7 separate regions of the Homo sapiens genome follow, and regions 2, 3, 4, 5, 6 and 7 are each linked to region 1. The links are contacts of gene promoters, found by promoter capture Hi-C in blood cells and fetal thymus (Javierre and others, 2016). All regions are on one chromosome and are shown on one strand. The core of a region is centred on a gene start or on the middle of the fragment in contact, and the rest is flanking DNA. Distances in the headings are between cores, read along the strand shown. Region 1 holds the start of HAPLN3 (hyaluronan and proteoglycan link protein 3). Region 2 has its middle 13 kb from the start of MRPL46. Region 3 overlaps MRPS11 (mitochondrial ribosomal protein S11). Region 4 overlaps FANCI (FA complementation group I). Region 5 overlaps DET1 (DET1 partner of COP1 E3 ubiquitin ligase). Region 6 overlaps FANCI (FA complementation group I). Region 7 overlaps RLBP1 (retinaldehyde binding protein 1).

Region 1 (3,286 bases), core at 522-3,021:
CAAAAATTAGCCGAGTGTGGTGATGAGCGCTTGTAGTCCCAGCTACTCGGGAGGCTGAAGCAGAAGAATCGCTTGAACCCAGGAGGCGGAGGTTGCAGTGAGCCGAGATTGAGCCATTGCACTCCAGTCTGGGCAAGAAGAGTGAGACTCCATCTCAAAAAAAAAAAAAAAGTTGGGGTGGGGGGGGCGGTCACGACAATACCAAACAGAAAACACTCTCGTGAAGATTAAGGGAGAGAATAGCTGCAGAGCACTGAAAATACTGCTTGATGCTTGATAAGGAGCAAGCACTGGGAAAATATGACCTGTTACTACTCTGGTGAGCAGTTCACACAGTGAAGTCTTACACCATCTCAGTGGCTCTTTCTCCTCTCTCACTGCCTACGAGACAAAGTGGTCACCACTGCCTCCTCTTCACAGTTGAGGAAACTGAGGCCAAGAGAGTGGAGGTCAGTGAACTACCCAAGGCGTTATCTTTGTCAAATATCTCGAACTTAGAGAAAGTTCAGGTTTCCTGATGACCAGCCCTTTGCTTTTCCCAGGCGCCCCAGCCTAGGGACCCCTCCACCCAAGAACAATAAGCCTGGGCTTGGAGGGAGGGTAGGTGCCACCTCCCTGCCAGGTGCATGTCCGCACTGGGCCTTCCGTGAGTACAAGTCCCCCAGGTACCAGCAGGAGGCAGCATCGCCCGCGAGGTCTGCACGAGCGCTGCTCCCAGCGAGAAATTTGACATCCCTGTCCCTGTTTGCACAAGGCTTGATCTCCGCCTTTGAAACCTGCAGCCCCCAGGAGAATGAAAACCGGAGGTGTTTCCCAATCCGCTGGCCCGGGCGGCGTCGAGGGAGAGAAGCCAGGGCCCCTCTCAATCGCTGCCCCCTACTCCAGGGAGCACAGGCACTCCCGCGGGTCAGCGCTGGACACCAAGGTCCCAACAGGTTTACAGGCTGCCTGTGGCCTGTGGCTGCCAACGAGCTGGTGGCAGGACTGGGTCCAAGTGCCGTGCTGTTTCCATACTGGCTGCGCACAAGCCTACGTTTCTCCCTGAGGGTCGCCATCTCCCACCCAGGGCTCTGCCCTCCACCCTCCCTACCCTTCTGGCCTCGCTGTCCCTGGGGCAAGAACCCCGGTGAGCGAGGTCTGGAACCCATAGGCATCAGTTGCCTTTGCCCCAGGCGCCCAGAGCCGGCCAGCTGCGGTCCAGAGGCGCAGGTCCGCCAGCCGCCTCGCAGGTTGCCCTCAGCCCCTCCCAGGACTCCCGGGGCCCCCGGAGCATCCAACAGATACCCAGGGGCAGGGCCTGGGGCGCCGCGGACGGCACTGGAGGCAGCCGACCCTGGACAGACGACAGGGGAGAGAGCCAAGCGGACCCTGGCAGGAAGGGGGCTGGAGGCGGACGGTGGTCTCGGAGGCCACGGGGTCCGCTCGGGCTCTGCTCCCTCACGGTGGGCACGAGGGTCCGGCGCCCGCATCCCCGCGCCGCTCCCTCCCCACTTGTGCCCCGGGCGCCCCTCGCCCGCGATCACAGCCCATCTCAGCCCGGGCCTCCGCAGTGCCCGGCCCACGCCTCCTGCCCCTTCCCCGGACCCTGCCCGGGAGGTGTGGGGACCCGCAGGGCACCCAAAGCGGTAAGGGAGGAACCCGGCCCGCACACAGCCCCAGAAGCCCAGCGACCCCTAAGCCACGTACCGTCCCCAGGCAGCTCCTCGACGGCTAGAGCTCTCGGGGGCCGCGAGCTGTCCCGGTCCAAGGCAGCAGTCTGATTTCGGGGAAATTAAAAGGGCAGAAAGGAAGCGGCAGCAGAAAAACCCCCGCGCTCCCGCCAGACCAGCCCCTTAAAGGAACACGCGCACCTTTCCCTCCCAAGGGCTGGGCTCGAAGGGAGGAGCTGCTGCAGGCTTGAGCGGTCTCCAGACTCGCTGGGAACCACCGCAAAGAGGGTGTGCAAGAGTTGAGGCCCTCACGTCTTGGGAAAGGAGAGTAGGGGTGGAATAGGAGAGTTTGGGGAGGGGGGATCCCCTTAGAAAGCCTGGTATACCAAAAACAGTGGGAGTAAGCAGGGGAAGCCCCTGTCCAGCATTCTGCTAGGGGCTAAGGCTGCTCCCCACCTTTGATTGTGGAAGGGGTGAGACTTCTGTATTACTTTCTTTTCCAAATAGAAAGCAAGGGGGTGAGGCCAGGTGCAGTGAGTGGCTCATGCTTGTAACCCCAGCACTTTGGGAGGTGGAGGCCGGTGGATCACCTGAGGTCAGGAGTTCAAGACCAGCCTGGGCAACATGGTGAAACCCTGTCCCTACTAAAAATACAAAATTAGCTGGGCGTGGTGGAGCATGCCTGTAATCCCAGCTACTTGGGAGGCTGAGGCAGGAGAATTGCTTGAACCCAGGAGGCGGAGGTTGCAGTGAGCTGAGATCATGCCATTGTGCTCCAGCCTGGGCAACAAGAGCAAAACTCCGTCTCAAAAAAAAAAAAAAAAAAAAAGCAAGGGGTTGCTGATGTCCTCATGCCCCTGAGTTTGGCCATCATGAAACACTGGCCAGATTCCCAACTCACTGTCAGGCACATAGCAGGTGCTATCCCCAGCACATGGGGCTTGAATGAGTGGCCCTGGCTGGGAGGGGAGACACAGGGTGGGATACCTCTGCAGCCTGCAGGGGCAATCAGGCTTCTGAGTGGTCCTCCAACAGGGGTGGGCCTCCCTTCGGAATCCTGCTAATCAGCACAGCCATCCAGGCAGCCGCTCAGGATGCCTCTGTTTGGACAGGGTGTTTTCTTTCCTGTCCAGACCAATGGGGGCCCTGGCCTGGACAGCCCGATGTTTCCTCAGCAGAAAAGACTAAGGAGGTCCTTCAGCTTTGGCTGGGGGAAGGGTCGAAGGGTCACAGGGTCACAGAGCTCAGAGCCTCTTCCTAAACACAGCTCAAGTTGGCCCATGAGTGTGTGTGTGTGTGTGCATGTGTGTGTGTTACACACAGCCAGGGGCACATTGGAGCACAAAGAACTGTGATCAACAGGTAAACTACACCTAAAAGGAACGCCAGGCTTGATGGGCAAAGGGGAGCCAAGGTAGGTCCCTCTGCAGGTTCCCGACAGGGGAGAGGATGGACAGTAGGGAGAGCACATTTTGCTACAGTTAAGTCGAGTTGAACATGCCAGCCAGGGGTAGGGGTAGCCAGCAGGTGGAATCTGAACGCTCACCCTCTGCCTTGCAGTGGGGCAGAAAAAAGTCAATGTGTAGGGGTGATGGTAAAAGCTGGGCAAATGGAAGACACTGCTGAGGGAGAGAAGC
Region 2 (3,286 bases), core at 474-2,973, 440 kb before region 1:
CTGTAAACAGTGCAGGCATTTTCATCCACTATTTTCTTCCATGGGCTCCTGCTCTGGAGTTAGCCTCGGATGGATGAGGTGACTCCATCTAGGACCTCGAATGTCTGTCTTTGTGCAAACATCTCATATTTGGTGTAATTCAGAATCCTCTTCATATTCTCCCAGCCCGCTCCATTCAAGCCTCTAAGGGATGGGGCACAGACCTGCAGTCAACAGCCCTTCAAGGACAGGGATAGGAATCTTAGTATTTTATACATCATGGCCCCGAAACACAAGCCAACTGGTTAATCTTGTGCTCCTCCAAATAAATCATGATTGGTTCCACCTCTAGAAGAAACACTGGCCATGTTAGATTCCCGGAGAGACCTGGCCAGTCACCAATGTGTTACCTTTCTAAAGGATATTTCCATGGTAACTTTAGTCATAGATTATTTGTGACCTATACAGTGACTTTAGAATCCAGCCCTCAGGTTAGATGTGATTCTGCACAAGGCATCATGGAACTCATTCTCTTGCCTTCAGACAAAACTACTCTTAAGCTGTCTTGGACAGTTAAGAACCTAAAACACTGTAAAATAATTCCCATATGCACTGCCCTCCAGCCCCACAGAGCTTCTTCCAGGCCTCTCTGGGCTTTGTGCACGTGATTCCTACTCTCTTCTATTCCCTGGCTCTCTCCCCTCTATTCTGAGGCCTGCTCTGAGGCCCTCACAGGGTTGGTGCACAGCACAGCTCCCTTTGGCTTGTTGACAGGCAGGGTTCCCCCACCACCCTCAGCACTAAACTGAGGATGTTGGCCAAGAGTATTTTGGTCTCCATTTTATTCCCAGTGCTTGGCTGTAAAGCAACCTCCTCCACAAATATTTGTTGAAGGGTTAACTGGGATGTTTCAAGAATTCTCTTTATTTGAGGTTTTTCCTTGTCATCAAGATTTACCGTCTTGTAGAAAATGTGGTGAGGTGATTGACAAACTGAAAAAGACTAATCTATTGGACTACTCAGAACTGACCTTATTTTTAATGGCATTTGTTCTTGTTTTATTTTTAATACTCATGGAGATTCTTACCCACTGTTACCAATTAGCTTTCCCAAATTGTGCTTTAACTGTTGATTTTTGTACTAAGAAGTAGCATCTTCAAATAAAAACTCACTTTAATATTTAATAATCCTAAATGTCAAGGAACTCTTCCCATGTGTAACTTCTCAAAATTCCTACTGTTGCATTTTAACGCTTGCTTACTTCCTCTAATTCAGACCAAGATGACTAATGGACATCCTCTGTGTAAGTAATATACACACTCAAAAACCATGACTCTCACCATTCCCTTCTCCAAGTTCAAATAATTCCAATCCCTTCAGCCTCACTGTTCTCCATGTCAATCCTCTTCATATTCTCACAAATCACCCCAGTTCAGGCTTTCCAAGGGGTCCATGAGCCTGCAGTAGATTGCTCCTCCATGACCAGTTCAGGAATTCCATGATACAAAGGCAGGGGTCCAGGCAGCATGGGACAATGGATGGCTTTAGAATCACATAGCTCTGGGTTCAAATCCTGGCTCTACCAAGCATTGACTGAGACCTTCACAGGGTCTCCTCCCCTCTCCAAGCTTGTCTATGGATCTAAAAATGCCACACAAGACCAACGTAATTCTTAGGTGAGTCAGATTATGTTGTGGACATGCAGGCCTAGCACAAGGCTACATGAAGTGGTCCTAACACATGGCAGTCTGGGTGCCCTCCCCTCCCAAGGGCATGGCGTCCATCTGTGACACTCCCTGGAGCTGATGCATGGGGGTGGATGGCCATGAGTGCCCCACATCTGTCCTGGTTGGCTGCCAGCAAGCTTCTGGCTGCTGCTTAACCCCAGGAGACTGGGTGCTGGGGACTCTGCTCAGCCTGAGATACGAAGCTTCTCCAAGGGCAGCAGCCTAAGGCCAGGCAGGTTTCCAGAAGGTTTCCAGGTTTCGTGAAGGTTTCCAGAGACAGCCTACTTCTGGAAGAGCAGATGCCAGGCAAACCCTGCCACCTTGTGGTGCTCATGCGTATGAGCCCGCTCCAGCTGTCATAAAGCCCCGCCTTCCACTCTGGGCTGCCATCTGGTTTCTCGGTCTGGGGATATCCTCTCTCTCCTTTTCTCAGCCTGATCTACCCCAAGGCTTTCTGACCTGGAGGTGTGTCCCAATCCCCTTAGGCCCAGGGTGTTCTCAACTTTGTCTATTAGCCCTGTCATTCCCAAAAGCCCTAGCCTCAGTGCCCTCATCTGACTACATTAGGACAGTTTTCCCCTACTGGGCCAAAGGAGAACCTGGGAGTCTCTCTCCCCCACCCACCTTAGCCACTCAGCAGCTACTTGGGGCCTGGTATCTGACACTTGGGCAATCAATGCTCTGTTTGTACTGCCAAAGCCTCTGAATAAAACCTGGGGCCGGCTTCTCAGGCCCACTTCAGAGTGGCTTAGTAGGGTAGCTGGGATGTATGCGTGCACATGTGCACCTATGTCTTGCTCTAGGCTAGTAAGACCCTCCCTGGCAGTGCCTATCTCCTGACTTGCAGGGGACCTTCCAGCCCCAGCCCCTCAGCTACAGCAGTGATTCAGCTATCTGGACCTATTCCTGAGCCTTTAACAGCACCTATTCTGACCACAGAGAGAACACTTTCCTCCTTCGCTTCCTGTTTTAAGCACCAAAATGCCAAGACAGGTGAAAGGCGACTGATAGCCTAAAGTAACTGGCCATAATCCAGGCTCGATGTGCTTCTAGAAAATAAAGCGGAGAAGGGTAGGGGCTGAGGCTACCCTGAGATTTCAGGCAAACAGGCTTTATCTTGCTATGTGTGTTTGAAGCTTAGCGATCTGTGAGCTTTCAATAATTGGGTTGCTGACCTTTCAGCGGCACTCCTTTTCCCCTGTTGGGGTAATAGAACGGGTCAGCAAATCCTTTCTGTTTTTAGTGCCCATAAGCCTGTGCCTAACAGTGGCTCTGGATTTCCTGGCCCAGGGTGGGACAGAGCTAACATGCCCAACCAGCTGGATGAGGCTGGCTATGGGACTTACCTGCCATACATCCATTGTGTGTGGCATTAATGGATGGAAACCATTAATGTCCAAGTTACTCACATCCCTTTCCAAATAGGTCAGAAATGCTTGGTTGCCACAATGTATAACTTAGAAAAGGTGAGAATGGGAGTTGTAAAAGCTAAAGATGTTACAGCTAAATGAAGGAGCAGAATTCAGGAGCCTAAGTATGTTGGAAGGAGGGAAACATTTGCTGAGTGTTTATAACAAGCC
Region 3 (3,286 bases), core at 543-3,042, 420 kb before region 1:
TGAGTTTAAAGTGACAAGACTAGTGTTCTTGTGTGGCTTACAGACGGGGACAGTGCCAAGGGAATTCCCAAACATATGCTGCCAACAGAAGCATTGCTGGTATTAGTGACAACTTTACAGGTTGGCCCCCACTTGGAAATGAGATCAGTATTTGGTCACAGCCAACCCACCCAGCAATTTAGAGACCAGCACAAGAGACTACAGTCATGGGCTAAAGTGTGTGGCACAGATGAAATGCTATAGGATTCATTTCAGCATTTGTCAGATAAATGTAAAGTGACAGCAATTGGATTTCTTTTTCTTCCCCTCAGACTAATAAGGACATAGGCTAACTGCATTTAAGTGTCTATGGTCTACTCTATACAGCACTGTTTAGGCTGTCACAGAGACAAGCAATTACGCATCTATTCAATATGGAAAACCCTAGAAGCTCTGGTAGGGGGAATGTCAGAGCCATAGCCAGGATAACAAGTGGATGGCCCAAGCCCGGGGCTGACTCCAGCAGGCCTCCCCTTCAGTCACTTCTCCTGCCTCCTTCTGTGAGCTCTCAGAGCTCTCCAGACCAGAAATAGGATGATGATGACTAAAGGGGAAATCAAAGCATATCTGAGGATTTCTTAAGGCATTCTTAATTGTATTAATAAGTAACTTATTAGAGATGATTAAGAAAAAGTTGTGGGTGGATGCAGTGGCTCACACCTATAATCCCAGCACTTTGGGAGGATCACTTGAGGCCAGGAATTTAAGACCAGCCTGGGCAACATAGTGAGACCCAGTCTCTAAAGAAATACAAAAATTAGCCAGGCGTGGTGGCATGCACCTGTAGTCCCAGCTACTTGGGAGGCTGAGGTGGGAGGATGGCTTGAGCCCAGGAGTTGGAGGCTGCAGTGAGCTATGATTGTGCCACTGCACTTCCAGCCTGGGCAACAGAGTGAGACCCTGTCTCACAAAAAAATAAAAAAGAAAAAAAGAGAAAAGTTTTACTTGTTTAAAATAATTTTTGATCATGGAATATAGTGTCATAAGCATCAAAAGTATCCAATATGAGGCCGGGCGAGGTGGCTCATGCCTGTAATCCCAACACTTTGGGAGGCCAAGGCGGGCAGATCACCTGAGGTCGGGAGTTCAAGACCGGCCTGCCCAACATGGAGAAACCCCGTCTTTACTAAAAATACAAAATTAGCCAGGCATGGTGGTGCACGCCTGTAATCCCAGCTACTCTGAAGGCTGAGGCAGAAGAATCACTTGAACCCGGGAGGCGGAGGTTACTGTGAGCCAAGATCGTGCCATTGCACTCCAGCCTGGGCAACAAGAGCAAAACTCCATCTCAAAAAAAAAAAAGTAGCCAATATGGTAATATTGCTAATATTTTTTTAAGAGTCCTTCTTTTAGAGCTATGTACTGAAATATTTACAGACAAAATGATAGGTCTGGGATTTGCTTCAAAATAATCCATTGGTGAGGGGAGTGGGGTGGGAACAAGGTTTATAGATGAAACTGAATTGGATATGAGTTGATAATTGTTGAAGCTGGTTGATGAGTCCATCAGATTTCTTATGTTATTCTCTTCACTTTTGTGTATATTTAAAACTTTCCCCAATACAGTCATTTTCTGGGTGATACTTAACTAACTACTCTCAGATTATGGAGCGCTCTTTAAATTATGTGACTTACCAGTTTTCAGTCAGGTTTAGGGGAGAATTCTGACCTTTCCTGATACTTCCTGTAGGAGTTCAAAACATGTTCATCTGAGAAGCTCAAAGTAGAAGCAACTGAATTCCTTTTTCTTTCTCACCCAGGCTTCTAGGGGCATAGATTAGCTCTCTCTTATTTCCCTGAAGAAGAGTTGTATCCTATGTGCTTCTTCTACTTTTCTCAGCACACAGATCCAGGTAGTCTCTGCTAGTAATGAGCCCCTTGCCTTTGCTTCCTGTGGCACAGAGGGATTTCGGAATGCCAAGAAGGGCACAGGCATCGCAGCACAGACAGCAGGCATAGCCGCAGCGGCGGTAAGTGTGTGTTCCTTCTGCTTCCTTCTAGTGTGTGTTTGCTTTCTGCATGGCTCATCACTGAGTGGAGAATCCTCATTATACTACCCATTCAGAAGCAAGGGTTTGTCATGGCAGCTTTGATGCCCTGATTGGAGCATTGGTTTGAAAAGGTTTAGTGAAAGGCTCCTCTTTTTTCTTTCTCTCAGCTTCATTAGAGGTGAAGCCCTTGTTGGTTCATTCTAGGATGTAAGAGCCAAGATACCAAAGGCTTGAGAACCAAAGACCCCTCAATTTAAAAACCGTTAGCCAGGTCTGGTGGCACCTGCCTGTAGTTCCAGCTACTTGGGAGGCTGAGGCTGGATGGCTTGAGCCCAAGAGTTTGAGGCTGCAGTGAACTATGATCTCACCACTGCACTAAAGCCTGGGCAACAGAGAGAGACCCTGTCTCCAAAATAAATTAAAAATAGGCCAGGCGCGATGGCTCACAGTTGTAATCCCAGCACTTTGGGAGGCCAAGGCAGGCGTAAGAGATCGAGACCATCCTGGCCAACATGGTGAAACCCCATCTCTACTAAAAATAGAAAAATTAGCTGGGCGTGGTGGTGCGCGCCTGTAGTCCCAGGTACTCGGGAGGCTGAGGCAGGAGAATCACTTGAACCCAGGAGGTGGAGGTTGCAGTGACTCGAGATCACACCACTGCACTCCAGCCTGGTGACAGAGCGAGACTCCATCTCAAGAAAAAAAATAAAAATAAAGACCAGTGGTTTGGGGTTGGGAGAGATATGATAGTCTATTTGGAGAGGACATAGTATCGTGGGGACTCATGCAATAGCAATACCAGTTCCAGTGTGAACTGTCGTAGACCTTTTTTAGAAGCAAATTGGCAAGGTGCTGCTATTGGTATAGTTATTGAGCATCTACATGTGCCAGACACTTTACATTCATTATCTTGAATCTTCAGAGACCCTCAGTATTATCCACATTTTCATAAGCCAATTGAGATTCAGAGTGTGTGACTTGCCCAGAGCCATGCACCGATTCAGTTCACTGATCGGAACCCAGATTGGTCTGGGACCAAAGCCTGCACAATTTCTACTATAGTACAGGCCTTACAAATGTTCAGACTCTGCCAAACCAGATGTATTTCCTGAAGGAAAACCTTGACCTTCAAACAAGGGAAGGCACCCCAAAATATTGATTGCATGTACTATCATCAGAAATCAAAATGCTGTAAATGCCCAACCATGGACAGATCATATACTATGAAAAGAAGTATGTCACTGTTCACAGTGGCT
Region 4 (3,286 bases), core at 235-2,734, 390 kb after region 1:
TTTAGTAGAGATGGGATTTCACCATGTTGGCCAGGCTGGTCTTGTACTCCTGGCCTCAAGTGATCCACCTGTCTCGGCATCCCAAAGTATTGGGATTACAGGCGTGAGCCACCATGCCTGGCCTAACTTAGTTTTTATAAAAGCAACTTCTTTTTCTTTTTGCACTGGGTTTTCAACAGTTTACTGAACGTCTGATTAAATCACTAGTTATTATGACAGTACAGCTAAGAGAAATACAACTACTGACTTGTGATTAGCATATAACTCACCCAGAGGATATTGTGGTAGCATATGTGAAAACAACATTCATCTTTCTGTACATTTCCATCAGAGCTCTTAGATGCCTAGGTGCACTATCAATGAGCAGTAATATTTTGAGAAGAATCTTTTTTTTTCTGAGCAGTAGGTCTCAACAGTGGGCTTAAAATATTCAGCAAACCATGCTATAAACAGATGTGTTATCATGCAGGCTTTGCTTTTCCATTTATAAAGCACAGGCAGAGTAGATGTAGCATAATTCTTAAGGGCCCTAGGATTTTTGGAATAGTAAATGAGCATTGATTTCAACTTAAAGTCAGCAGCTACATTAACCCCTAACAAGACAGTCAGCCTGTCCTTTGAAGCCAGGCATTGACTTCTCCTCCCTAGCTAGGCAAGTCCCAGATAAAGTCTTCTTCCAATATAAGGCTATTTCATCTACATTGAAAATCTGTTGTTTAATATAACCACCTCGATCAATTATGTTAGCTATATCTTCTGGATAATTTGCCTCAGCTTCTCCATCAGCATTTGCTGCTTCACCTTGCACTTTTTTTTTTTTTTTTTTTTTGAGTCTCACTCTGTCACAAGGCTGTAGTGCAGTGGCACAATCTCGGCTCACTGCAACCTCCGCCACCCAGGTTCAAGTGATTCTCCTGCCTCAGCCTCCCAAGTAGCTGGGACTATAGGCTCACGCCACCATACCCAGCTAATTTTTGTATTTTTAGTAGAGACTGGGGTTTCACCATGTTGGCCAGGATGGTCTCAATCTCTTGACCTCGTGATCTGCCCGCCTCGGCCTCCTAAAGTGCTGGGATTACAGGCGTGAGCCACTGCGCCCAGCCCCTTGCACTTTTATGTTATGGAGATGGCTTCTTTCCTTAAACCTCATGAACCAACCTCTGCTCGCTTCAGCTTTTCTTTGGCAGCTTCCTCATCTCTTTCAGGCTTTATAGAATTGAAGAGTTTGGTCCTTGCTCTGGATTAGGCTTTGACTTAAGGGAATGTTGTGGCTGGCTTGGTCTTTTACCAGACCACTAAAACTTTCTTCACATCAGCAATAAGGCTGTTTTGCTTTCTAATCATTCATATGTTCACTGGAATAGCACTTTAAATTTCCTTTAAGAGCATTTTCTTTGCATTCACAACTTGGCTCTTTGGTGCAAGAAGCCTAGCTTTTGACTTGCCTCAGCTTGTAACATGCCTTACTAAACTGGATCATTTCTAGCTTTTGATTTAAAGTGAGAGACGTGCGACTCTTCCTTTCACTTGAATACTTATAGGTCATTGTAGGGGTTATTAATTGACCTAATTTCAATATTGTTTTGTCTCAGTGAATAGGGAGGCCTGAGGAGAGGTGGAGAGATGGGATGATGGCCCAGTCAGTGGAACCAGTCAGAACATACACAGCATTTATCAATTAAGTTCACTATCTTATATAGACACAATTCGTGACTCTTCAAACCAATTGCAATAGTAATGTCAAAGATCATTTATCATAGATCCCCATAACACATACAATAATAAAGAGAAAGTTTGAAATATTATGAGAATTACCAAAATGTGACACAGAGACATGCAGTGAGCACATGCTTTTGGAAAAATGGTACTGAGAGACTTGCTTGATGTAGGGTTGCCACAAACCTTTAATTTGTAAACGTAATATCTGCGAAGTGCAATCAAGCAACTTGCAATAAAATTAGGTACGCCCATATTCTGTATAAACCACATTGTTTAAACAGTTAAGGCACAGTGAGCCACTCTTCTTTAGGGTGAGCTTTGTGTCAGTGTAAGTAACTGTTTACCAGCTAAATTCTCAGCCACCAGCTGGCAAAGGTGCACTAAGGATAGGCAGTCTTAGACTTCATGTGTTAACTCTTGTGCAGTCCTTGATATGCCCCTTCCCCCCCAAAAAAAATCTTCACCCTTATTTAGCTCTAAAGTAAAAAAAATTAACATGAAGTGGATCATAGACTTAAACCTATTAGAATATTGCTGTTCATTTATTCATCAGTCTTAGTATATCATTGGTATATAAAAATACCTTATGTAGTGATAAAACTTGTCATATTTGTTGCAAGTGTATGCCAGATTGCCATTTGCTTTTTTTTTAATATGATCCTTTTACACTTAAATAATAATTTTTGGTTACTAAATCTATTGATTTTCTTCCTCTGAGATGTCTTCTATTACTTTTTTTTTTTTTTTAAGAGACAGAGTCTTCCTCTGTTATCCAGGCTGGAGTGCACTAGTGCAGTCTAACTCACTGCAGCCTCCAGCTCCTAGGCTCAAATAATCCTCTTGCCTCAGCCCCATCCCCAAACGATTGGGACCATAGGCACAAGCCACTGCACCCAGCTAATTTTTCTGTTTGTTTTTTTTTTTAACCTTTTGTAGAGACAGGGTCTCACTTTGTTGCCCAGGATGGTCTCAAATGCCCTGGCTTCAAGCGATCCTCCTGCCTCAGTCTTCCAAAGTGCTGGGATTAAAAGCATGAGCTACCGTGCCCGGCCCATCTTTATTATTATTTTATCTGTAGAAAGTCCAAATCCTTCCAATGAATATTCACTAACATTTTCTTTGAGGTTTTTTTTTTTATGCATTTGTTTTTGACGTTTAGCTACTTAATTCATCCTGAATTTGTATGATAATATATATGAGGAGCTTTTCCCCCAAGCTAACCATTTGTTCAGACATCATTGCCTCCTTAATGTGTACTATGTATCTCTGTATGCCATTTTAAAATTTTGCCTGTAGATTTTTGTGCCAAGACAAAGTGTCTTTTTATTATTATTACACATTCATAAAATATTTTAATTGCTGTTAGGATTAATTTTCCTTTGTTCCGTTCCTTTCCCCTTTCCCCTTTTTCCGTTTTCCTTTCCTTTCCGATGGAGTCTCACTCTGTTGCCCAGACTGGAATGCAGTGGTGCGGTCTCGGGTCTCAGCTCACCACAACCTCCCCATCCCCAGTTTAAGCGATTCTCCTGCCTCAGCCTCCCAAGTAGCTGGGATCACAGGCGTGCAT
Region 5 (3,286 bases), core at 1-2,500, 360 kb before region 1:
GCTCACCATTGGCCGCAACATTGGTAATGTGCAGCAGGACAAAAAAGCGTTCAAAGAGCCGGCCCCGGATATTCACTGACCGCTGGTCATTGCCATTGGACAGGATTTCTCCTTCGTATCCCTGCAGTAGGTCCTCTGCTGCCTGGCAGCCCTGGTACTCATAGATTTCAAGAGATGTCTGGTCTGAAGAAAAAGCAATAAAGTAGCGTCCATCAGGTGAGAATTTACGCAAGAAACAAGGAGGCTTTTCAACGTTGACAACTGTGAAGTTGGGGAAGACATTCTGATGGAACACTCGGACTTGGTGCCAGTGGGTACCTGCCTTGCCTGAACTGATCCGCCGGCGTTCCAAGCGGTGAATGACATTTTGGTTTTGGATTCTTCGAGGCTTGATGGTAGAAACATGATGATCCATTATCACATCTCTAAACAGAAAAGTAAAGCAGAAGTCAAGAAAGTGAAACAGAATTTACCAAAATATAAATATATACAAGTGAAACAGATTTCTCTTCTTATATCCTGAACCTAGGAGCTCCCAAGATGACAGTGACTGGCATTACTACTTCCCAGATTATACTGAGTAAGTGGTCCTAACATTTCTAAGTCTAGAAACAGGTCTAAGGGAAGGATCTAGTTCACTAGGAATACCTTCCAAGTATGCTCAGCTGTTGGGAAAGTTCAACAGAAAAAAACCTACAACTACAAATTTGAACAGTATAAGACACATTCGGCTGGGCGCAGTGGCTCACACCTGTAATCCCAACACTTTGGGAGGCCGAAGCAAGTGGATCACCTGAGCTCACTAGTTCAAGCCCAGCCTGGAAAACATGGCAAAACCCTGTCTCTACAAAAAAATATAAAAATTAGCTAGGCATGGTGGCACATGACTGTAGTTCCAGCTACTTGAGAGGCTGAAGTGGAAGGATTGTTTAAGCTTGGATCATCGAAGCTGCAATAAGCCGTGGTCACAACACTGCACTCCAGCCTGGGCAACAGAGTGAGACTCTATCTCAAACAAACAAACAAAAAAATCATATTCAATGTGCATTCATTCCAGCAAAAAATATTTATTGGGCTGTTAAGATATCCATATTACCCAAAATAATCTACAGATTCAATACAAACCCTATCAAAATCCTAATAGCACTTTTCACAAAGATAAAAAATTCATCCTAAAATTCATATGGTATCTCAAGGGCCTCCAAATACACAAAATAATTTTGAAAAAGAACAAAGAGGATTCAAGCCTCTTGATTTCAAAATATATTACAAACCACAGTAATCAAAAAATTGTGGTACTGGATAAAGACAGACACAGACCAATGAAATGGCCCACAGATAAACTCTGGCATATATGGTTAAACAATCTTTGATAAGGTCCTACTACTACTCAATAGAAAAAGGACAGTCACTTCAACAAATGGTGTTGGGAAAACTGAATAGCCACATGCAAAAGAATGAAGTCAGACCCTATCTTACACCCTATACAAAAATTAACCCAAAATAGGAAAAGAATCTAAATATAAGACCCATAACTATAAAACTACTAGAAGAAAATACAGGAGGAAAGCTTCATGACATCAGATCTGGCAGTGATTTCTTGGATAAGACACAAAAGGCATAGGCGACCAAGACAAAAATAGACAAATGGGAATACATCAAACTTAAAACTTCTGTGATCAAAGGACACAATCAACCGAGTGAAAGGGCTTTCTACAGAATGGAAGAAAATATTTGCAAATCATATATTGGATAAAGGGTTAATATCTAGAACATATAAAGAACTCCTATAACTCAATAACAAAAAATCATATACCCAATTTTAAAATGGTCAAAGTACTGGAACAGACATTTCTCCTATACAAATGGCCACAAAGCATATGAAAAGATAGATGCTCAACATCACTAATCATCAGAGAAATGTAAATCAAAACTACAATGGGATATCACCTCACACCCATTAGAACGACTGCTTTTTTTAAAAAAAGAAAATGACAAGTTTCATTGAGGACATAGAGGAAGTTGAACCCTTGTGCATTGTTGGTGGAACTGAAAAATAGTACAGCTACTAAGGAAAACAGTATGAAGGTTCCTTGAAGAAAATTAGAACTACCATAAGATCCAACAATTCTACTTCTGGGTATAAATCCAAAATAACTGAAAGCAGGATTTCTAAGAGATATTTGCACACCCATGTTCATATCAGCGCTATTCATAGTAGTCAAGAGATGGAAGCAACCCAAAAGTTCACTGATGGATGAGTGGATAAACAAAATATGGTATATACACACAAAGGAATATTACTCGGCCTTCAAAAGGAAGAAAATTCTGACATATGCTACATCACTGAAACTTGAGGACATTATGTGAAGTCAAATAAGCCAATCACAAACAGACAAATACTGTATGATTCCACTTAAATGAAGTATCAAACGTAATCAAATTTAACAGCCAGGTGCCATAGCACACACCTGTAATCCCAGCTACTTGGGAGGCTGAGGTGGACCACTTGAGCCCAGGAGTTTGAGTCTAGCTTGGGCAACAGAGCAAGACCCAATCTCTAAAAAAAAAAAAAAAAAAAAAAAATTAATGTAAAATACTTATCATTAAAAAAAGAAAAAGGAATCAAATTCACAGAAACAAAGAAGAATGGTGGTCACCAGGGACTAGCAGGAGGGGAAAGAGAAGGTGCTGTTGAATGGGTTAGACTTTTCAGATTTTCAAGATGAAAAACTTCTCGAGATCAATTTCACAATGTGAATATACTTAATACTACTGAACTGTACACTTACAATCAGTTAAGACGGTAAATGTTAGGCTATTTTAAAATCACAATAAAAATATGTTTTAATATTTATGGGGCATCTATTATATGGCAAAGTCTTCTAATTGTTTTATTATACCTTGATTCAAATCAAAGTTAAATCACAGGCCATAAAAGTCAACGGCATTTAGTGAAAAACTTAAGTTATAAAGCTGTTGCCAGATAAGATGGAATAATCAAACACCACCTTCTCTCTCCCACTAAAAATGCAGCTATAAAACCTAGACAGAATGCATAAGACAGGCATATGAGAAAAACCAATTGGCTAACAATAAAGTACCACTGAATGGGCAGTGAGGTTAACATTGTCTCCCCTGGTTCTCCTGCTGCTTGAAGAGCAAGTGTGTTGCAAGGAAGGATAATTAAAGCCCCAATTTTGTCATCAGAGGATCAAAAGGGAGACCCCAGTGGAACCAGAAGGTACTGGGGAGATATCAGATGGGGAGGAGCTCAGAAAAGTAA
Region 6 (3,286 bases), core at 383-2,882, 350 kb after region 1:
TTTTTTTTTTTTTGTATTTTTAGTAGAGACGGGGTTTCACCATCTTGGCCAGGAAGGTCTGGATGTCTTGACCTAGTGATCCGCCCGCCTTGGCCTCCCAAAGTGCTGAGATTACAGGCGTGAGCTACTGCGCCTGGCCTAGACTGAGCTTTTGAGGAGATGTGGATTGAGCTAAGATCTGAAGGATTTGTAGGAATTAGTAATAAAAGATTGGGGGGCAGTGGATGGAAGCAGGAATATTTATTTAAGTTCCAGATGGAAACATGTGGAAGGGCCTGTGGCAGAAAGAACTTGGAGATTTGAAGGACTGGAAGCAATTCTGCATGGCTGGAGCAGAGTGATGAAAGGGAGGTAGGCATGGGTCAGAACTTGCAGGACTTATTTTATCCTTACTTAAGGGTTTTGGACTGATAAAGCAATGGAAGCCACTGAAGAGCTTTAAGATGAGGATGGCATGGAGGGAAGATAAGTCACATAATCAGGTTTGTGTTTCAAAAACATCACTTTAGTTGCTGCGTAGAAGGGAACAAGTTAGGAAACGATTGCAGTAGTTCAGGTGAGAGATGGTGGTGGCTTGGGGTAATGTGTCAGTAGTGGAGATGGAGAAAAGTAGACAGATTTGGGAGATATTTAGTAGGTAACATTGACAGGACTTGGTAATGGATGTGGTGAAGGATGAAGGCAAAGTTGTTAAGAATGTTACCTAGGTTTCTGGTCTGAGCAGCTGAGTGGATGATGGTACCATTTATGGAGACGGGAAACACAGGAGGAAGAAGAGGAGGAACAGATTTTCTTTCTACTAGGCTGTACTTCCCCCTTCTATTTTCATAGCTACTCACTGAATTCTATCTGCTTCATGTGCCTCCATTTCATCCCATCTTTTCTGTTCTCCAGTCACCACCCTAGTACAGGTCTTTATCATTTCCACTAAAATAACTTCCAAATGGTCTCTTAGCATTTGCTGTTTCTTCTTACCTTCTCCCCACTTTAATCTGCACAAAGATGCTAGGTTCTGTTTCCTCAAACACTTGCAATCTTGTGAGATTGTCTTTTGCTCAAATTTTTTAATGGTTCTCAGTAATTTACGAAATAGAATCTAAATTCCTTAACCTGTTTACTTCCAGCCTATCTTTCCAGACTTCCTACTCACTATTTTCCTACTTGGATTCTACCTCAGCCATTTTACTCATTTTCCCCCAAAGAAATTTCTCATTTCCCGTATGAATGCCTTTGTTCATGATACCCTTCTCCATAATGTATACAACCTGGTTGTCTGGACTACCTATATTTAATCTCTAAGTTCCAGTTCAAGCTTTCCTCTGCTGCGAAACCTTGACATTTAAGAACACAGTTACATCTTTTACCTTGTTAACTTCTCAGCTTTTCTTTCTTTCTTTCTTCCTTTCTTTTTTTTTTTTTTTTTTTTGAGACAGAGCCTCGCTCTGTCGCCCAGGCTGGAGTGCAGTGGCGTGATCTCCGCTCACTGCAAGCTCCTCCTCCCGGGTTCACGCCATTCTCCTGCCTCAGCCTCCCGAGTAGCTGGGACTATAGGCGCCCGCCACCACGCCCAGCTAATTTTTTTTTGTATTTTTGGTAGAGACGGGGGTTTCACCGTGTTAGCCAAAATGGTCTCGATCTCCTGACTTCGTGATCTGCCCTCCTCAGCCTCCCAAAGTGCTGGGATTACAGGCATGAGCCACGGTGCCGGCCTCTTTTTTTTTTTTTTTTTAAGAGACAGGGTCTTACCTTGTTGCCTAGGCTGGAGTACTGTGGCATGATCATAGCTCACTGCAGCCTCACACTCTTGGGCTCCCCTTCTCACTTGTTTTTATACCATTTAATTGGCACATAGCATTTATAGTGCTATTGGTTTATTCATTTATTTGTCAAATACTTTATTACATGCTTATGGTAATATATAATGTATTACATACTTGATATGCTGTTAAATGGAAGCTTTGTTCTAGGTAGTATGGTGAGTAGATGGTAACAAGTGTGGGCAAAAATTATGAAACCACTTGATTAGAATACAGATTCCTAATAAGGCAATTCCAGGGAATTTTCAGGATTATTTTGGTTAGGTTAAGAATCATCTTGCCACTGAGCTTAAGAAGAAGAAGAAAAAAGAATCAGCTACTTAAAGATAGTCCTAAGTTTGTTGAGCACCCATTGCATAATAGGTATGAAATATTCAGTTAACAGGGAAGGAAAACAAATCAAGTTTGTTTATTTCTGGAATCTTCACCCACCTCTGACGTTTTTCCCTTGTAGTTCTGTGATATGAGCAACAATGGACCAGAAGATTTTATCTCTAGCAGCAGAAAAAACAGCAGACAAACTGCAAGAATTTCTTCAAACCCTGAGAGAAGGTGATGTGAGTATTAGGAAGCATGTTCTGCTAAAAGTAAATGTCAGGCATGATGACACATTCAAAGGACATGTGAGAAAGAAAAATTACGCTGCTTCTTCATCTACTCCCCATTCACTGTAGGAGACAAGGATTTATTTAATAATAATTTATAGATGTAAAGAAATTGGGGTGAGGGAATGAGAGAAATAGACTACTTGAGGGCATTTGTGACCAAGTTTAAACCTGAAATAGTTTAAGAATAGAATGCTTTTACAACTGTATTTATAAAAGCAATTAGTATACTTTTATGGTCCTCAGAACAATCCTATTTGATGATAATATCCAGACTATAGTTACTGATTGAGACATTAGTTTTGCATTTTGATGCTTCTCTGTATTTTTCCGTAAAGAAATTAAGTTTATAAGCGGCAAAATATTTTGAAATTATTAGTAAAAATTAGGGCCTCTGTTTTCACTATAAGTGTAGGATTATAAAATGGGATAGTAATTGCCTTATATGTTAGGCTGTTTCTTCTCCCTAATGTTCTTTCTCAGCTGATATACTGCTCCTTTTTCCATAAGTGATCTCATCCTATCCAGGTCCCTGCCTGGAAAAGAATCCCTCTTCAAGGTATATGTACAAACAAGTAAAGACATTGAGTATCATGGGATTTTTTTCCTTTTTCTGTCAATTGATGAGTATTATGTTTTTAAGGGAATTTCTTTGTGTTAATGTTGTAGTTATTGAAGGAAGGTGCATCTTAGTGTGTGTTATCTGACATACTAACTAGGAATTGATGCAGTGTTGCTCTTTGATTTTTTTTTCTTTGAAATTATCCAAGATTGCCTTTATAGCTATTTTTTGAGATGACTTGTTGCATGAGTTGTAACTTGAATCATTCTATAGACAAGATTTGATTGAAACTAGCATTTAAA
Region 7 (3,286 bases), core at 481-2,980, 320 kb after region 1:
GTCATCTCAAGCAGCCCTTTCCTAGCCTTGGGTCCAGGACAGTTGAGGAGAGGCCCAGAGATTCTAACTACAGTTCAGCTGGCAGGAGATGTTTTCAGAAGGCTGTGTTCTCAGCTTGGGCCTGGGGGCCAAAGAGCTGCTCAGCAACGGCCTTGCCATCATACTTGGGCAGCGTGCCCCCGAAGTCAGAGGGCAGGATGTTCTCATCGATCTCCTGGTAGAAACCAGAAAGGTCATCCCCGTGGACAAAGACCTGCAGGGAAGCAAGGGAGACAGAACTGAGCAGGAGGAGGTGCCCTAAGGATGAGGGTTGAGGGAGGAAAGGGGCAGGAGGACAAAGCCCCATCATGTGCAGTCTTTGCCTGGCGACACCTCTCTCCGCAGGTCTCCATGTTGGGTGTCAGTGGGATCCACATAGCTCAGGACCATGGTAGAGTGTGAGGAGGGCTCAGGTGAGGCCCCACCCTCAGCCCTCTTGTCTCATTGTCTGGGCGGCCCACGTACTCACCCTCTCAAGCAGCTTGCTCTTCAAGAAGGGCTTGACCACATTGTAGGTCGTGGTGAAGTACCATGGCTGGTGGATGAAGTGGATGGCTTTGAACCGGGCTGGGAAGGAATCCTGCGGTGACAGAGAGATACCCCGTTCCCCATGGCCCCAGTGACCTCAGAGGCTCCCACTCATTCCCTGCTGCCTCTCCTCATGGCATAGAACAGACTTGTCCAGCATCACAGGGCTGCCCTGGAGAAGGGCCCACTGAAGGTCCTATTTCCAGGCCAGCAACTAGGGATCCCTGGCTCACTGTGGCCCAGACTGCACGGAGGAAGCCCCAAGATTCATAAGACCCAACCCTCTCCCTGCTGATGCAAATTAAACTGGGAATTAGGAAAAGAAATGAAAGTAGCCTTGCTTGACCTTTTGGTGAGTTTTTTCAAACCCACTTGCCTGCCGAAGGGACTGCAAACTATTACAAACGACAGGAACAGTATTATCATCCCTCATTGTCCATCAGCCCCTCCCACAACCTCCACCTCCCACCCCTCCTTTCCCAATACACAGAGCAGATCTAAGATGGCTCTAAGAAAGGACTCCTGACATGTCAGCACATATAGGAGTGAGTTATCAGAGGGTTAGTGATAATCCCTTTCTCGGGGTGAATCCACATTCAAAGAGAGGCAGTGCGACATATGTGGACAGACAACATGGGATTCCAGGTCAGAAGATGCAGGTTCAAGTCTGGCCTCTGCCGCTTTATTGCTGTGTGACCTCGAGATGTCTCTTAAATCTCTGAGCCTTCGTTTCCAGGTTTGAAAAATGAAGCAGGGAAGGAGGGAGAGAATGCTCTCAAGGAGTCGATGGAAGAATGAAAGGGAATACTTGGCAAACTGTCAATCACTATGCAGGTGCTTATGGTTGGGACTGTGGCTGTCACTGCTCTTTATGGCGCGAGGTGGTCCAACTTCTCAGTTCCCTGCAAGCACCATGAAAGGAGGCCCAGCCTCTCAGCCTCCCCAGCTGTGGGAGGCTGCCGTGCGACAGAACTCTAAGCCTCACCTGGAGCATGTCCACCATCTTCCTGAGATCTGAAGTCCGGAGACTAGCAGCCTGCTGCATGGTAAAGCCCTTGAAGTTCTCAATGATGCAGAAGCCATTGATTTGAGTTTCCTCATTCTCCAGCAGCTTCTCCAGGATGAAGCAATATGCCTGCAAGATCTTGGGCACAGAGAGAACAGGCTGTAAGATCTAACCCGCAACAATAATTAAGGCTTGAGGTCCTGAGGGGAGAGCTAATTGGTACATTCTTCACTGGGGTAATTTGCTGCAGGCTTTGATCTCGGACATTCCACTTCTGTGAATGTATACCAAGAAAACAAGTTCAAATGTCACATCCATGCTTAGAGGCCAGAAGGTTTATCCCAGTACTCTTGCAATAGTGGGAACATTGGAGACAACCTAAATGTCCAACAATGGGAACTGGTGAAATTATGGTACATTTATGCCATGGAATACTCTGGAACAATTAAAAACAATACAGAAGACTAATAATACAGGAAAATGTGCATGATATATTATTGTAGAATATAATCCCATTATTGTAAGAAAAATGTGTGGGCTGGGTGCGGTGGCTCACGCCTATAATCCCAGCACTTTGGGAGGCCGAGGCAGGTGGATCACCTGAGGTCAAGAATTCAAGACCAGCCTGGCCAACATGGTGAAACCCCATCTCAACTAAAAATACAAAAAAATCAGCTGAGCATGGTGGCAGGCACCTGTAATCCCAGCTACTTTGGGAGGCTGAGGCAGGAGAATCACTTGAACTTGAGAGGCAGAGGTTGCAGTGAGCCGAGATCACGCCACTGCTCTCCAACCTAGGCGACAAGAGCAAAACTGTGTCTCAAAAAAAAAAAAAAAAAGAAAAATGTGTGTGTGTGTGCGCGTGTGTGTGTGTGTGTATGTGCGTGCATACATGTATGAAAAGATTGGAAGGATGTCAATAGTAGAGCTCTCTAGGTAGTAGAATTGCAAATGATTTTAAATTTGTCTGTAATTTTTTTTTTGAGATGGAGTCTTGCTCTGTCACCCAGGCTGGAGTGCAGTGGTGCGATCTTGGCTCACTGCAACCTCTGCCTCACAGGTTCAAGCGATTCCCCTGCCTCAGTCTCCCAAGTAGCTGGGATTACAGGTGCCTGCCACCATGCCTGGCTAATTTTTGTATTTTTAGTAGAGACAGACAGGGTTTCACCATGTTGGCCAGGCTGGACTCGAACTCCTGACTTCAGGCAATCCACCCACCTTGGCCTCCCAAAGTGCTGGGATTACAGGCATGAGCCACTGCGCCCAGCCAATTTTTTGTATTTTCTAAAATGAGTAGATATCACTTACGTAATAAGAAAAAACATATATTTAAGTCTCTTCCTTAATACACACAGATAGGCAGGTGTGCATTTCAGTCCTACAGCCAGTGTCTTATTTGATGGGAAAACCCTAGAGGCATCCTTACTAAGATCAGGAATTAGATAAAGACTTCACCATCTCTGCCACCATTTAATTCTATATTGAAAGTACTAACCAATGCAATCAATTTGTTAAAAAAAAAAAAATCAGGGGCATAAGAAGTGGAAAGGGAGAAGAAAAACTATCTCCTCTACTTACAGATAGTATTATAGTATACTTAGAAAACCCCAGAGAATCCATTATAAAACTAACATAAATTTTAAAAGAGTTCAGTAAAATAGGGGGATATACAATTAAAAAACAAAAACAATAACCTTCATTTATACAAACAAT

Evidence for each region. The method cuts DNA at HindIII sites, captures the fragments that hold promoters and counts their contacts. A CHiCAGO score of 5 or more calls a contact.
Region 2: a contact is called between a fragment that was not itself captured here and the fragment with the promoter of HAPLN3 in region 1, in 2 of 17 cell types (total B cells and naive B cells). The highest score is 6.3, in total B cells.
Region 3: a fragment that was not itself captured here is called in contact with the fragment with the promoter of HAPLN3 in region 1 in 3 of 17 cell types (naive CD8 T cells, total CD4 T cells and non-activated CD4 T cells); the score reaches 9.2 in naive CD8 T cells.
Region 4: a contact is called between a fragment that was not itself captured here and the fragment with the promoter of HAPLN3 in region 1, in 1 of 17 cell types (naive CD8 T cells). The highest score is 5.0, in naive CD8 T cells.
Region 5: a fragment that was not itself captured here is called in contact with the fragment with the promoter of HAPLN3 in region 1 in 1 of 17 cell types (naive CD8 T cells); the score reaches 7.4 in naive CD8 T cells.
Region 6: a contact is called between a fragment that was not itself captured here and the fragment with the promoter of HAPLN3 in region 1, in 2 of 17 cell types (naive CD4 T cells and naive CD8 T cells). The highest score is 5.8, in naive CD4 T cells.
Region 7: a fragment that was not itself captured here is called in contact with the fragment with the promoter of HAPLN3 in region 1 in 1 of 17 cell types (naive CD8 T cells); the score reaches 5.6 in naive CD8 T cells.

Annotation. Positions count from the first base shown.
Region 1 is chr15:88,893,773-88,897,058 of GRCh38, forward strand. It overlaps HAPLN3 (hyaluronan and proteoglycan link protein 3), which reads right to left and starts at 1,772. Exons shown (of 5, transcript NM_178232.4): 1 at 1,687-1,772. RefSeq lists an enhancer at 998-1,609. The HindIII fragment of the contact is 19,838 bases long and covers 1-3,286 here.
Region 2 is chr15:88,453,157-88,456,442 of GRCh38, forward strand. No RefSeq gene overlaps it. Among named protein-coding and RNA genes, the nearest start is that of MRPL46, 13 kb to the right of the region's middle. The HindIII fragment of the contact is 236 bases long and covers 1,606-1,841 here.
Region 3 is chr15:88,473,231-88,476,516 of GRCh38, forward strand. MRPS11 (mitochondrial ribosomal protein S11) reads left to right here. Exons shown (of 6, transcript NM_022839.5): 4 at 1,880-2,009. Among named protein-coding and RNA genes, the nearest start is that of MRPS11, 7.2 kb to the left of the region's middle. The HindIII fragment of the contact is 6,293 bases long and covers 1-3,286 here.
Region 4 is chr15:89,286,170-89,289,455 of GRCh38, forward strand. The region is part of intron 18 of FANCI (FA complementation group I); the gene reads left to right. Among named protein-coding and RNA genes, the nearest start is that of MIR6766, 39 kb to the right of the region's middle. The HindIII fragment of the contact is 6,511 bases long and covers 1-3,286 here.
Region 5 is chr15:88,531,291-88,534,576 of GRCh38, forward strand. DET1 (DET1 partner of COP1 E3 ubiquitin ligase) reads right to left here. Exons shown (of 5, transcript NM_001144074.3): 2 at 1-425. The coding sequence starts at 415. Among named protein-coding and RNA genes, the nearest start is that of DET1, 14 kb to the right of the region's middle. The HindIII fragment of the contact is 636 bases long and covers 933-1,568 here.
Region 6 is chr15:89,245,358-89,248,643 of GRCh38, forward strand. FANCI (FA complementation group I) reads left to right here. Exons shown (of 38, transcript NM_001113378.2): 2 at 2,272-2,374. The coding sequence starts at 2,291. Among named protein-coding and RNA genes, the nearest start is that of FANCI, 3.0 kb to the left of the region's middle. The HindIII fragment of the contact is 644 bases long and covers 1,311-1,954 here.
Region 7 is chr15:89,210,191-89,213,476 of GRCh38, forward strand. It overlaps RLBP1 (retinaldehyde binding protein 1), which reads right to left. Exons shown (of 9, transcript NM_000326.5): 7 at 1,553-1,711; 8 at 509-619; 9 at 1-253. The coding sequence ends at 95. Among named protein-coding and RNA genes, the nearest start is that of RLBP1, 9.7 kb to the right of the region's middle. The HindIII fragment of the contact is 3,749 bases long and covers 1-3,286 here.